Regions from separate parts of the Homo sapiens genome. Here all the other regions are linked to region 1. Evidence: promoter capture Hi-C in 16 types of primary human blood cells and fetal thymus (Javierre and others, 2016). All regions are on one chromosome and are shown on one strand. The core of a region is centred on a gene start or on the middle of the fragment in contact, and the rest is flanking DNA. Distances in the headings are between cores, read along the strand shown. Region 1 holds the start of RGS10 (regulator of G protein signaling 10). Region 2 overlaps BAG3 (BAG cochaperone 3). Region 3 has its middle 80 kb from the start of RGS10.

Evidence for each region. Contacts are between HindIII fragments. The CHiCAGO score rates a contact against its expected background, and 5 or more counts as called.
Region 2: a contact is called between a fragment that was not itself captured here and the fragment with the promoter of RGS10 in region 1, in 2 of 17 cell types (naive CD4 T cells and naive CD8 T cells). The highest score is 7.8, in naive CD4 T cells.
Region 3: a fragment that was not itself captured here is called in contact with the fragment with the promoter of RGS10 in region 1 in 6 of 17 cell types (non-activated CD4 T cells, naive CD8 T cells, naive CD4 T cells and 3 more); the score reaches 10.7 in non-activated CD4 T cells.

What each region holds. Positions count from the first base shown.
Region 1 is chr10:119,540,478-119,544,481 of GRCh38, reverse strand. RGS10 (regulator of G protein signaling 10) reads left to right here and starts at 1,763. Exons shown (of 5, transcript NM_001005339.2): 1 at 1,763-1,892. The coding sequence starts at 1,844. RefSeq lists enhancers at 1-508, 771-850 and silencers at 1,061-1,220, 1,271-1,340, 1,351-2,090, 2,141-2,310. The HindIII fragment of the contact is 10,649 bases long and covers 1-4,004 here.
Region 2 is chr10:119,654,167-119,658,170 of GRCh38, reverse strand. All of the region lies in intron 1 of BAG3 (BAG cochaperone 3), which reads right to left. Among named protein-coding and RNA genes, the nearest start is that of BAG3, 4.8 kb to the right of the region's middle. The HindIII fragment of the contact is 765 bases long and covers 1,446-2,210 here.
Region 3 is chr10:119,460,295-119,464,298 of GRCh38, reverse strand. No RefSeq gene overlaps it. Among named protein-coding and RNA genes, the nearest start is that of RGS10, 80 kb to the left of the region's middle. RefSeq lists an enhancer at 1,838-2,087. The HindIII fragment of the contact is 4,863 bases long and covers 1-4,004 here.

The DNA of each region.
Region 1 (4,004 bases), core at 514-3,013:
CTTGGCAACTAGCAAAACACTGAGCTGCTGTGCCTAACTTTTACCCCTGTGTGCCAGTGTGCTTATTTCCTGTCTTAGGATTACTTGTAATTTGGTCTCGGGGAAGTTTTCTGGGTGAGTGCGTTGCACCAATTCCCTTATTGTTTTAAGAACGCAGTGACCTCACTTGGATCCAGGACTCTGCCAGCATTTAAAATCCCGCTCTTACGAAAGGTGAAACTCTTGCCTATAGTTAAGTATCACAGCTTGATCCCATTACAATGAGATGGAAGTTTGTCTGGGCCCGGAGTAGGCCAACAACAGCAGTTTTAAAAGCAGAACTCCCCGCGCTGGGTCTAACCCTGTTCTTGGTCACCGCGTTCGCTTCAGGAGCCTGGAAATCCTCTTTTGGCAGCAGAAGGGGGAGAGTGCTTGGAAATGCTCGGAGGAAAACGACTTTTGGAGGGGGAATAGCGGGGAGGGAAACAACAAGCAACCACCGGCCACACTTGGGGTGCAACTGGGGCTGTGGGGTGGGTAGAGGGAGAGGGAAAGTGAGCAGAACTGGAAGCTCAGAATAGAAGATACAAAAGAAAGTGCCAAGTAGTGAAAAAAACTGCAAAAGGACGGGGGGATGGGGGGAGGGCGACTGGGGAACGGTTTGGAAAAATAGCAATTAGTACAGCTAAAAATAAAGACCAATTTAGAGACAAAGCCAGATACACAAGGAGAAAAATAAAACTCGCCAGAAAGACAATTTCTTGCAAACCAAATGTTCAAGAAAATGGGGGCTAATGACATCCCCTCTGGGGCTGCTCCATAGAAGAAATGAAATAATAGGAGACCGTAGAGCGCGCAGCGCCCAGCAGGTGACGCCGTGGGGGCTTGAGTGGTCCCGGTCGTGGAGCCTGAAGGCCCTGCCAGAGGCAGTGCCCACGTGTCCCCAAAGTTAGAGAAGTGTCCCGAGAGCGCGGTGTGCGGGACAGAGCACCGCCCGGCGCAGGAACCGGGGGGTTCCTGCAGAATCCTCTCAGATCTCCCCGAGTCCTGGCGCCCGCGCGGCACGGCCGGGGAGAGGGCGCCCACCCGCGGCGGCTCGGCTAGCTCAGCGCACGGGCCCTGGGGACGCCCCACCCGCATTCGCGGGGCGGGAAGGCGCAGCGCCCACGAAGTCGAGGAGCAGCCAGGCCCCAGCAGGCGGGGATCCTGGTGACGAGGAGGCAAAGGCCACAGGCTGGGCCGCGCCCGGACTCTGCAGAACCGCGAGGCCTAGGCTTCCCAGCCTGTGACCCGGGAGGGGACCCCGCCCGCCACCTGCGAAGGCTCGCTGAGAGCCCCGAAGCGCGGTGCGCCCGCGGCGCCGTGCCAGTTTCTCCGGGGCTACAGGGAGAAGGCGGGAGACCGCGATGGGCCCGGGAGCTTGAAGCTGGGCGGGGCGGGCCGGGGCGGCATCTCAGGCGAGGGCCAGGGACCCCGGGACGCGCTAACCGCCTCCGCGGGGCTACTAAGTTCCCGGCGGCGCGGGCTCCCTCTGGGCCAGTGCACCTTATCCCAGGCGCGGGGCACACTCTGGGCGATCGGGGGTCACCCGGGGCTGCCCTGCCCTGCCCCGCCCGGGCACCCCGGAGCGGAACCGCGAGTCCTCACCAGCGGGGGCGGGCAGGGCGCACTGAGCGCGCCACGCGGCGCCTGGCTAGGAGGAGGGCGGCGGGCGGGGACCTAGAGCTCCGGGGCGGTGCTGAGCCCGCTCCTCCTCCTTGCCCTCCTCCTCCTCCTCCTCGCCCTCCTCCTCCTCCTCGCCTTCCTCCGGCTCAGCCGCCGCGCCGCCGGGCTGCTCCTTCTTCCTCCTCGGGCGCCCGCGGCGATGTTCAACCGCGCCGTGAGCCGGCTGAGCAGGAAGCGGCCGCCGTCAGGTAAGCGGCTTCGGGGGCCCGCGGGCTCGGGGTCGGGGCGCCGTTTCGCCCGCCCGGCCTCCTGCCCTCCCTCTTGTGCTCGGGCGCGGCTCGGTGGTACCTCCCAGACTGGAGCCCCGGCCGACCGCACCACCTCTCCCCGCTGGGTACCGCACCTTCGCGGTCCCAGCCGCGACGGGAGCGCAGAGCTCCTCCGGGAGCCCCGGGGAGGAAGTTTGGCTGAAAGAGGAACAGCCGCAGTTTTCTTTTTAGTGATGGTCTGGGAGAAAAAGGAGCGCCCCAAATCTCCAAACTTTGGAGGTGACATGGGGCTCCAGATTCCGAAAGCGGAACGGCGCGCGGGCTTCTCCCTCCGTGACGCTCTCCGCCTCCGCTGCGGGCGTGGGTGGAAGGATGCCGAGCGCCCGGGGGAGCACGGCTGGACCCGGGCATCCGACTGGGCCCCTGGGCCTGGGGCGTCGGGGGCCTTCGCTTCTGCCGCGAGGAGCCAAAAGGTGGGATCGCGAGGGTGGCGGAACCCCAGGATGGAGAAGGGCACTTCTGCGGTCCGAGCCAGCGAAGTTCTGACGTTACGAAGGATTCGCCTTGGCCGTCACTTTGGGCCAGCCTGAGCCACGATCTCGGGCAACTTGATAGGCCAAAGACCCCACGGTGAAGGTGGAGCCGTGCCCTTGATTCCGGTCCTTCCACCCTTTTGCTCATCACAATAGCTACGACCTGTGCAGGCCTTTGGGTGCGCCAAGGGCTTTGTCCACCGCGTTGGGTGAACTCTCCCTTCACCCCTAGGACAACCCGGTGAGTGAGGAGGGAGCGGAAGCCAGGCGCTGTTAGGTAACTTGCCCCAGTCACACTCCGCAGGTGATGGGGAGGCTTTCAAACCCAGGTTCCCCTGACTCTGAAGTTCGGGGGCTTTGCCGGGCTTCCCACGCCAAGATTCACTTCTGCTTGGCGCTCAGAGTCCCAACGCGTTGGTGCATTTCCTTTCTGCTCCTGGTATTTTATGAGGGACATTGTGGTTTAGAGACTGGGACCAGACTGGCTGGATCCGAATCTCACCTTCGCCATATTCACCAGCCGTGGGACCTTTCTGCAGAATGAGGTTCTGCACAGTGGGAATAACAGTAGCTACTCGCCTTTTAAAGTACTTAATTGGAACCTGTCTTCCATCCATCAGGTTTTGCAAATTATTGTATTTAATATGTAGGATTTCATAGGGTTGTTGTAATGATCTTACATTGTTGCCCGGCAAGTACTAAGTGCTCCGTTAGCGTTAGTGGTCATGTAAACCTTTTTGTGTTGCATGTGAGTCAAAGAATTCCCTTGTGGGTGTTAATGTTAACCAGTCTCTATGGTTGGCACAGGCCTGTGGAGCGCTGCTCAGAGCCTGGACTCGAATTAAACTCTTGGTTCTAACCTTGACTCTGTCATTCAGCAACACTGGGCAAATTACTTGATCTCTCTGTGCCTCCGTTTCAGTGATGTGCTGGAGCTGGCTCAAACTGGCTTGCAAGAGCCAGTTGCCAAATATTCAAAAAGTTTGGAAACTGGTTGTAAACCATAGGTAGCTTGAAAGTAGTTATGATGGGATATTTACATCATGAAAATCAACAAAGCTAAAAATGAAGGCTTCATTTTGACTCAGGAGAGCTGATGTTCCAGCACCTTTCTCCACCTGCAAAGTGGGTTTCATAGGGTTATGGGATTAAATACTCAAAACCATATGAAGCCCCTAGTACAATGTGTGGCACATAATAAAAGTGTAATAATTAGTAGCTTTTCTCCCTTTTGCCTGTTATAAATAGAGCTGCTATGAATAGCCCTGTACGCGTTACTTATTACTTTAGATTGCTTTTGGGTTGAAGACTGACAGATAGAACCATTGTATCCTGGGAGATACATGGATTTGGGGTGATTTTGCGTGTAGCCAGGTTGCACCCCAAAAAGGCTGAAGGCAGTTTTAGGGAACAAATTATTTCAGGGCAACAAATTTTAAACCTCATAAAATGTGGTTACATCACTGACAGAAAGGTCGGTCTCAGGCCGGGCTCAGTGGCTCACACCTGTGATCCCAGCACTTTGGGAGGCTGAGGCAGGAGGATTGCTTGAGCCCAG
Region 2 (4,004 bases), core at 579-3,078, 110 kb before region 1:
GGAAGAATTTTTTAAATAACTGAAAAAAATATATAATTCTACTTTAATAAACACTGAGGAAGATACTTTAAAACAGCAAACGTTTGTTCTCCAATTGAATGCTAAGGAATTTTCCGTAAAAAGTCTCCCCAGTTCACTGGGGCACAGCTCTGTGCTGGGAGCTCTTGGACAGCTGAGCTGTTTACAGGCTCCTGACGCACAGAGCTGGCACTCTGCGATTCTAGGCTTTTCTGAATTGACAGTGAATAAGAACCTTCACGTATACGGTGTCTGATCTTGCTGCCAGCCACACGAAAAAAAATTTTTAAGAGACTCTTTTCACAGTGCCAGGGGCTGCTCTCTGCACAGCTATGGAAGTAGGGTCTGGCTGCTGCCAGCTCCCAGCCTCTCCAGCCCTGCTGTAAGATGCTGTGTCATTGGGAGAAACAAAAAAGAGCTTCTCCAGACCTGTAAGGATGAACTTAGGGAATCAATACTGAAGTCCTTTGTGCAGAGAAGGCCATTCACAAAGTGACAAAAAGGAGCAGGCCTCTGGGGACCTTTAGGAGCCCAGGACAACTCTGCAGTTCTTAGGAACCAATGGAAGGCTTCCCGGGACACACCTGCATCCTTCACGGGCAGCTCTTCTGTATCTGCCTTCGCGCTCTGGGCAGGCCCATGTTCTACCCTTCTCCACAGTCACTCGTTCCATCTTTTCTGAGCCTGTGGACCCTGCCAGGCATCAAGAGGCAGCGATGAAGCACACAGACTCTGCCCCAGAACTCCTAACAGGGGTGTGACCCCAAGACAAAGCAGAAAAGTGCAGAGCTTAAGCAAAAAGATTCAAATTAAAATAATATGGGTTCCAGAAGAGAGACAGCCTGCTTCGGACCAGGGAGAGGCAGGACATGCTTTGTGGAGAACAGTCTCAAAGTGGGCAGACTTGTCCTCTATATGGCATTTAACACTGTGACTCGCACACTGTGGGCACTCAGTGAATTTCAGATGGGGTAAAGGAGTGAGTAAAGAGTCGGGCCCATCTCCTAAATCCAGACCCAGGTTCAAGAAACAGGCCAACATTTCTGATTAACTATACAAAGATGGACTCAGGGCTGTTTATCACCTCAAGCTGTGCCTGGGGAGTATAAAGCAGCCGTGCCTGGGGAGTATAAAGCAGCCAGGCCCGCTAAAGGCAAGTCTGTCTGTCACCCCTTCAGGAACTCAGATGGGGGTAAAGCCACAGAAGTCTTTCTGTTTATCACAGGCCAGGCACACTGCCTCTCCAAATCTGCTGTCCCATGTGTAAGACACTTCATAGTTTCTAGTTCAAAGAGCTGGTGAGGATTTAGAGATAAGGTTACCAAAAGCACCCACTCATATCTGGCACATATATATATATATGTGTGTGTGTTGACAGACAGAAAAATACTACATTCATTCCTCTCCCCCCAAATTCTTCCTAAGCTTTTGCAAGCTGCCTGGCTTCCTAAAAGGCTGCCAAGGTCCCAAAGATACCTTCATCGAAATACGTGACGACTTAGTAACACCAGATACCTCACATGGTATCACATGTGCCACATGATGCATACAGATGAATCCTGCACCTGCAAAACAAGGGGCTCTGGAGCCTGCCTCAGACGGCCGGCTGATGGGCATGGTGGCGCTCACCTATAATCCTAGCTACTTGGGAGGCTGAGGCAGGAGAATCGCTTGAACCCAGGAGACGGAGGTTGCAGTGAGCCAAGATCGCACTACGGCACCCCAGCCTGGGAGACAAAGTGCGACTCCGTCTCAAAAAAAAAAAAAAAAAAAAGAAGGCCAGCTGAGTCTATGCTCTGAGGCAGAAGCAGATCAGAGGTGTCTACTTGACTCACAACAAAAGGGAACCCAGGAGGGGCTGGAGAATAACACGGTCAAGTGTGACACAGGGTTCACTCGTGTTCGCCAGTGCCAGAGGGTCTCAAAGATCCTAATAAGCAAGGCCTTTGTCTTCAGTTTCTTCTGTAAGCTCTCTTAAACATTTAAGAGCAATATTAAAACAGCAAAACTTAAAGGAGAAAGAGTAGGTCTGGATGATGAATGGTTTTCTACTTTGGATGATAAACATCAGAACATCATTTTTAAATGTCAATAGAAAGTAATAAACATGTAGAGTGGTTTATATAAGGTGACTGTGTGTCATTCCAGAAACGAGGACAGCACTAAGCAAGCCTCATGGGTGGTATGAAGCTTTCTGACTCACAAGCAGCCCTGATAGCATCCAACAGTTAAGCCTTCCCAGCCCTGGCCAACGTCAAACGCTGCCGCAGGTCCTGTGTACAGGCTCCACCCTCATAAAGGGCAAATCTACCCTACAAAACGGGACAAATGATGTTCTCGGAGGTGCAGTCGGTTCTCATGTGAACAACACAGGCTGTTCTTCAGAGGGGAAAATGAAAGTCCTGGATGAGCTGGGCTCCAAGGCATCTGGCCATGCTGTTCATCTGCCCCCCAACAAATCACTTTCATGCAGTCGCACAGGAACTTGCTCAGCCACAACTGCAACTTGCTGGAAATACGAAGGAGAGAACGGCCACTCATTTCCTGATTGTGCTCCGCCTCTGCTAAGAGGCATAACAGCTTGCAATAGATCTGGAAAGAGCAAAACGATCTCATCTTTAAGAAAATTCAGGAGGCTCTGCTGAACCTTAAGCAAAATAAATGGGTCTCTCTACTTCAATCATAACTCGAAACATTTCCAGTGTTATCTGAAAGGATGTTTCTATCTCCCTGTCACAGTGCCTGAGTATAATCTGTTAAATGATTATGGTGAGATTCTGCCAGATGGGCAAGACAAAAAGAAAAGGCTCTGGCTTGCTTCTTCCTGGGGTCCAGGAAGATCTCTGGACCACCTCCCCACTCTCGCACTGCCAGCCACCCTGCCAGACTTTGCAAGGTGCTGTCTCGGCTCGCTTCCCATGTCATCCCCATATTCACACCTCCAGAAGCCCGCGTACCTGGGGAGTTTCCCCAAGAAGGAAAATGGAGGCTTGGGAAAATGCTCTGCAGGATAGATGTTCAGGAGGCACTAAGCCGCAGCTCCTCCTCCCCAAAATGGGATCACTGGCCATCCGTGGCTCCCACTGCCAGTGCAGCAGAATCAGAACCACCAAAAAAGCTTTCTGGACTTAATAGTTTTCTGGGCCCTACACTGAGCAATTCAGATTTGAACATGGGGTTGGGGCAGGGAGGCGATGAGACACAGCCACAATCTGTGTTCTTAACAGGACTCCCTGGAGAGTGCCAGACTGGTAACCCCCAAGATCCATGGAGCTAGAGCGGCCCTGCTCCATGAGGGAGGAAGGTCTCCCTCTCATCCCAAGGAGGCCTGGCGGGAACAGCACTCCAGAACATCCGGCCTCTGTTTATTCAGGGAGGAGCCTGGAGGAGTGGCTGCACCAGCACTGAATGCCATCCTCTGCCAGGAAAGGGCCTGGACTGGTATGAACTTGCCAAATTAGTGGGAAGCCCAAGTGTGCAGAAAATCAAAATCCAGGAAGACTGCAGGTGGGGAGGCCCAGCTGCTTAGAATGGGGCTGGATGAAGCCCAGCATCTTTGCCGGGAGCCGTCCTGCTTCAGCAATGACAGAAGATACTTGCTTTCGCTCTGCCCCTCTGTGAAAACAGGGAGTTGTCCTAACTACTTCAGGAGAAGGCGGAAGATCAACTGCAAGACGGCAGTAGAAGACGAAATAAAATACAAAGGTCTAGTCTTTTCTTTCCATTTTCTTACTAACGTGATTAAATTTTAAACATCCTGAAGCTGAGTCCTCCCCCAAAAGAGAGGTCGTCTCTTGAGCTCCTCATGCTCAATGAACAGCTTTTTACTGATTGACAGCATTTCCTCTTGAAGATGATGATGCTCAGACGGGCCTCAGCTCAGCTCCTCCAAAATCGCCCTTTGTTTTCTGCAAGGGCCTTTTTCTCATTATGCATTGAGAAGCCAATTTCAAATACAAAATGATATTCAAGGATTTTCCACTACA
Region 3 (4,004 bases), core at 1,074-3,573, 81 kb after region 1:
TTTGCCCTATAATATACATTAGTTGAGGAATAATAACATCCACGTTATTACTGACAATATGTTTAGTGAAAATGGCTTAAGATTTTTTTGGCAACTCTTTTTGTCTTTAGGGCATGCCCCTCTTTGGGAACCTACAGTCACATTTCTGTGCCTTAAAGTCACTTGGGGATGGTCTCTGTGTGATTATGCCACCACCTGCATATGAACAGATTTGTTTCTTCCATTTGTCTTCTGGTTTATAGGGGCTGCTATAAAAAATTTTTAGTTTTGTTTTACAATTATCAAAAACATATATTACATATGACAATAGTGAATTTTACTTGAGCCCGGTGCTCCTGGAAAACAGTGAAGATTAAAGGAATTCCCCCTGCCAGGTGCAGTGGCTCAATCTGTAATCTCAGCACTTTGGGAGACCGAGGCAGGAGGATCCCTGGAGGCCAGGAGTTCAAGACCAGGCTGGGTAACATAATGAGATCCCAGTTCTGCAAAAAATTTAAAAAAGTTAGCCGGGTGTGGTTGCACATACCTGTAATCCCAGCTACTCTGGAGGCTGAAGTGGAAAGATTGCTTGAGCCCAGGAGTCAGAGGCTGCAGTGAGCTATGATTGCACCACTGCACTCCAGCCTGGGTGACAGAGTAAGACCCTGTCTCATAAAACAAAACAAAACAACAACAAAAAGCCAAAACGAGAGATTCTCCTCACATTTTTGTTTTCCAGGAAAACAACATGCTGCAAAAAACCACCTTTCCCCATATGACTTTGTATTAGTCTGTTCTCACATTGCTAATAAAGACATACCTGAGACTGGGTAATTTGTAAAGGAAAGAGGTTCAATAGACTCACAGTTCCACATAGCTGGGGAGGCCTCACAACCATGGTGGAAGGCAAGGAGGAGCAAAGGCACATCTTACATGGTGGCAGGCAAGAGAGAGTGTGTGCAGCAGAACTCCCCTTTATAAAACCAACAGATCTCATGAGACTTATTCACTATCACTAGAACAGCATGGGGAAGACCCGCCCCCATGATTCAATTACCTCCCACTGGGTCCCTCCCACAACATGTGGGAATTATGGGAATTACAATTCGAGATTTGGGTGGGGACACAGACAACCACATCAGACTTCCATAAGGCCGAGGGATGTCCCCCTTATTTATCTATGAAAGGCCAGACACAGACCCTCCAAATTCCCATTCTTTGCCTCATAAATGATTAGCTGAACGGCCTGTTCCCACTGATCCATGGAAACAAAATGCTTGCTAGCCAGACTTGGGTAAGTTTCACTCCTTCTTCCTGGACTCTGAACTTTGACCAACTCAGCCTGAGCCTGCAGGCAGCCCCTCCAGAGCAGAGGCTGCCTCAGGGTGACATTTTCTGATCTATTTATCTAATCACATCACCCTTTCATCCCACTTTCCACACCTGGCTCTTTCTAGCCTTGTTCTTTCTACAAAAGAGATCATCTTTTCGCCTAACCCTCAAGACCCTTGCAGATGGCATGGTCAAGCCTTCTGCGTTTTGCAGTGCTCTCCATCCCAGCCCCTGTTGCAGTAGCCCCTTTCCTCCCTTGCAAAAATCTTTCAAATAGTTCTCTCCCCACTGAGTCTGGATTTGTGTTTTATTTGACGTGTGCTTGCAAAGTCAAATCTACAAGACAAGGCACATTTCTGAGCAGACTGGCTTTTATATCTGTCTCTCACTCTCCTCCCCTGGTGGCTTCCCTCTCCCTGTAGGTAACTTTTTTCCTTTTTTTGGTTTATCTTTTCATTAAAAATATGACAGTAGGATTCTATGTCGTATCCTCTTTCCTTTTGTTTAAGAACAGTGGTAGCCAATTGTACCCACCTGCTTCCATTTGCAGGTAAGAGCCTCACTCTCTTCAGCCCTCTGTGACTCTGAAAAGCCATCGGCAGGAAGATCAGTGGCTGCTTTGCCCTAAGCGTCCTCAATGAGATGAAAGCGCTTTGTAAACCAGTGGGCCTCAAACTGGAGTGTGCACCCCAGTCACCTGGGGGTCCTGTTCATAGGTCCCACCCAGACTCCTAACTCAATAGGCTTGGCACGGGGAGCAGGAACCTGGATCTCTCAGAAGTTCACAGGGCTGCTGCTGCAGCCTGTAGTGGTGAGGGTGTCAGACTTTGAAAACTACTGGTATCAGTTCCCCTCAAGGGCAGGGCAAATGTTGGTGAGTATTAATAAAACTTCTGTACCATAGAATACAGGACCTGGTTTGACTATAGACCCAGCCTGCCATTCCGGTTTGGGGCTTTCTTTCTTTCTTTTTTTTTTTTTGGGACAGAGTCTCACTCTGTCACCCAGGCTGGAATGCAGTGGCACAATCTCAGCTCACTGCAATCTCCACCTCCAGGGTTCAAGGGATTCTCCTGCCTCAGCTTCCCAAGTAGCTGGGATTACAGGTGCATGTCACCACACCCAGCTAATTTTTATAGTTTTAGTAGAGTTGGGATTCCACTATGTTGGCCAGGCTTGTCCCAAACTCCTGACCTCAGGTGATCCACCCACCTAAGTCTCCCAAAGTGCTGGGATTAGGTGTGAGAAATGGTGCCCAGCCAGGTTTGGGGCTTTCTAAGGCCTCTCTGCTCAAAGTGTTGTCTGAGGACCAGTGGCTTCGCCCAGGAGCACTCAGAAGCACGGGCTGTGCCCTACCCCACACCCACTGAATCAGATTCTAGTTTATCAAGATTCCAAATGAGTCAGAACTCCTGAAGCATGAGAGGTGCTGACCCAAGCCTTCTGCGCCTTGTGGTTTACCTGCCAGTAGTTGATGCCCCTAGAGTGCAAACTCTAGATCTCACCCCATGGCCTGCTGAATGGGCTTTTCCTGCTCTCTCCCCCAAGATAGCCAAGCCAAGGCCCCATGACAACTGGCCCAGGCCTGGGCAATGTTTGGCTTGGCAAACTGCTGGGCAAAGTGGTACCAGGAGCCCTGCCATGCTGTGGCTCAAGGGTCTGTTCCCAGGGCCCCAGCTCTCCCTCCTCTTCACGGTCTCTGGATATGGCAGGTGGATCCTAACAGCTTTAAGGACTGCCTCCCACAGGGGTTGTGGCCTGGAGCTCTCTGGGGCCCAGGGATGCTGGCTTTGAGCCTTTCCTGAAAATGAGTTAGATGGAGGCTCTTTTGGTCCCCTCACCAAATCCACGGTTGTCTGGTGTGGACAGGACGGGCACAGGCCTGAAAGGTGTGGAGGAGGTAAGAGGTGGGTACTCCTCCTGCCCAGCCCAGCCCATCTGCCTGGGAAGGGGCCAAAGCTGCTGGGCAGGGCAGTGTAAATGGTGAGGGGGGCCGGAGCTGTGGGGCTGGAGTTTCTCCCACTGATACCCTACCTGTCCCAGGAGAGACGGCAGCTTCTGTCTGCCTGGAGGCTGGCTCGGACAGTGGAGTTTCTGGAGTGGTGAAAGCCCCAGAGACAGAGCTGGGCCCTGCGGGGAGGTCCTCCCCATCCCTGTTCTGAGATCAGAGCATTTCCTGCCCCACCCCTGCATCTTCTGCCCTTGAGGGCTACCCGCCTGGTCGGCAAATCCTCGGCCATGAGTACCCCCATTCTTCCATCCTGGGAGAGCCCCTTCCTCATCCCACCCTCATTGCCAGCCGGCCCCTCTTTCTCTCTGTCCAATTCCACAGGGTCCCCCAGTAAGCAGATTCTTCCCCAGGCTCCAGGCCTGGCTGGAGTGTGGCTCCAGGCAGGGCTGGGTGTGAATGGGTGTGAGGTCAAGGCCAGGCCCCTGCTCAAAGCCAAGGCCTCTGTGCTGGGTGGCCCATGAGTTCCCACTGAATCCTCCAGCAGCCACATCACTGAGGTGTGATCTCATTTACAGATGAAGACACCGAGGCTCAGAGTGGCCTGTTTAAGGTCATATATCATCAATAGGGTGTTGGCTGAGTCCCAGCCCTGCTCATTCTATTTATTTATTTATTTTTAAAATTTATTTTTACCTTTATTTTTAAAACAAACATCTCAGAGTAAGCCCTGCTCATTCTAACA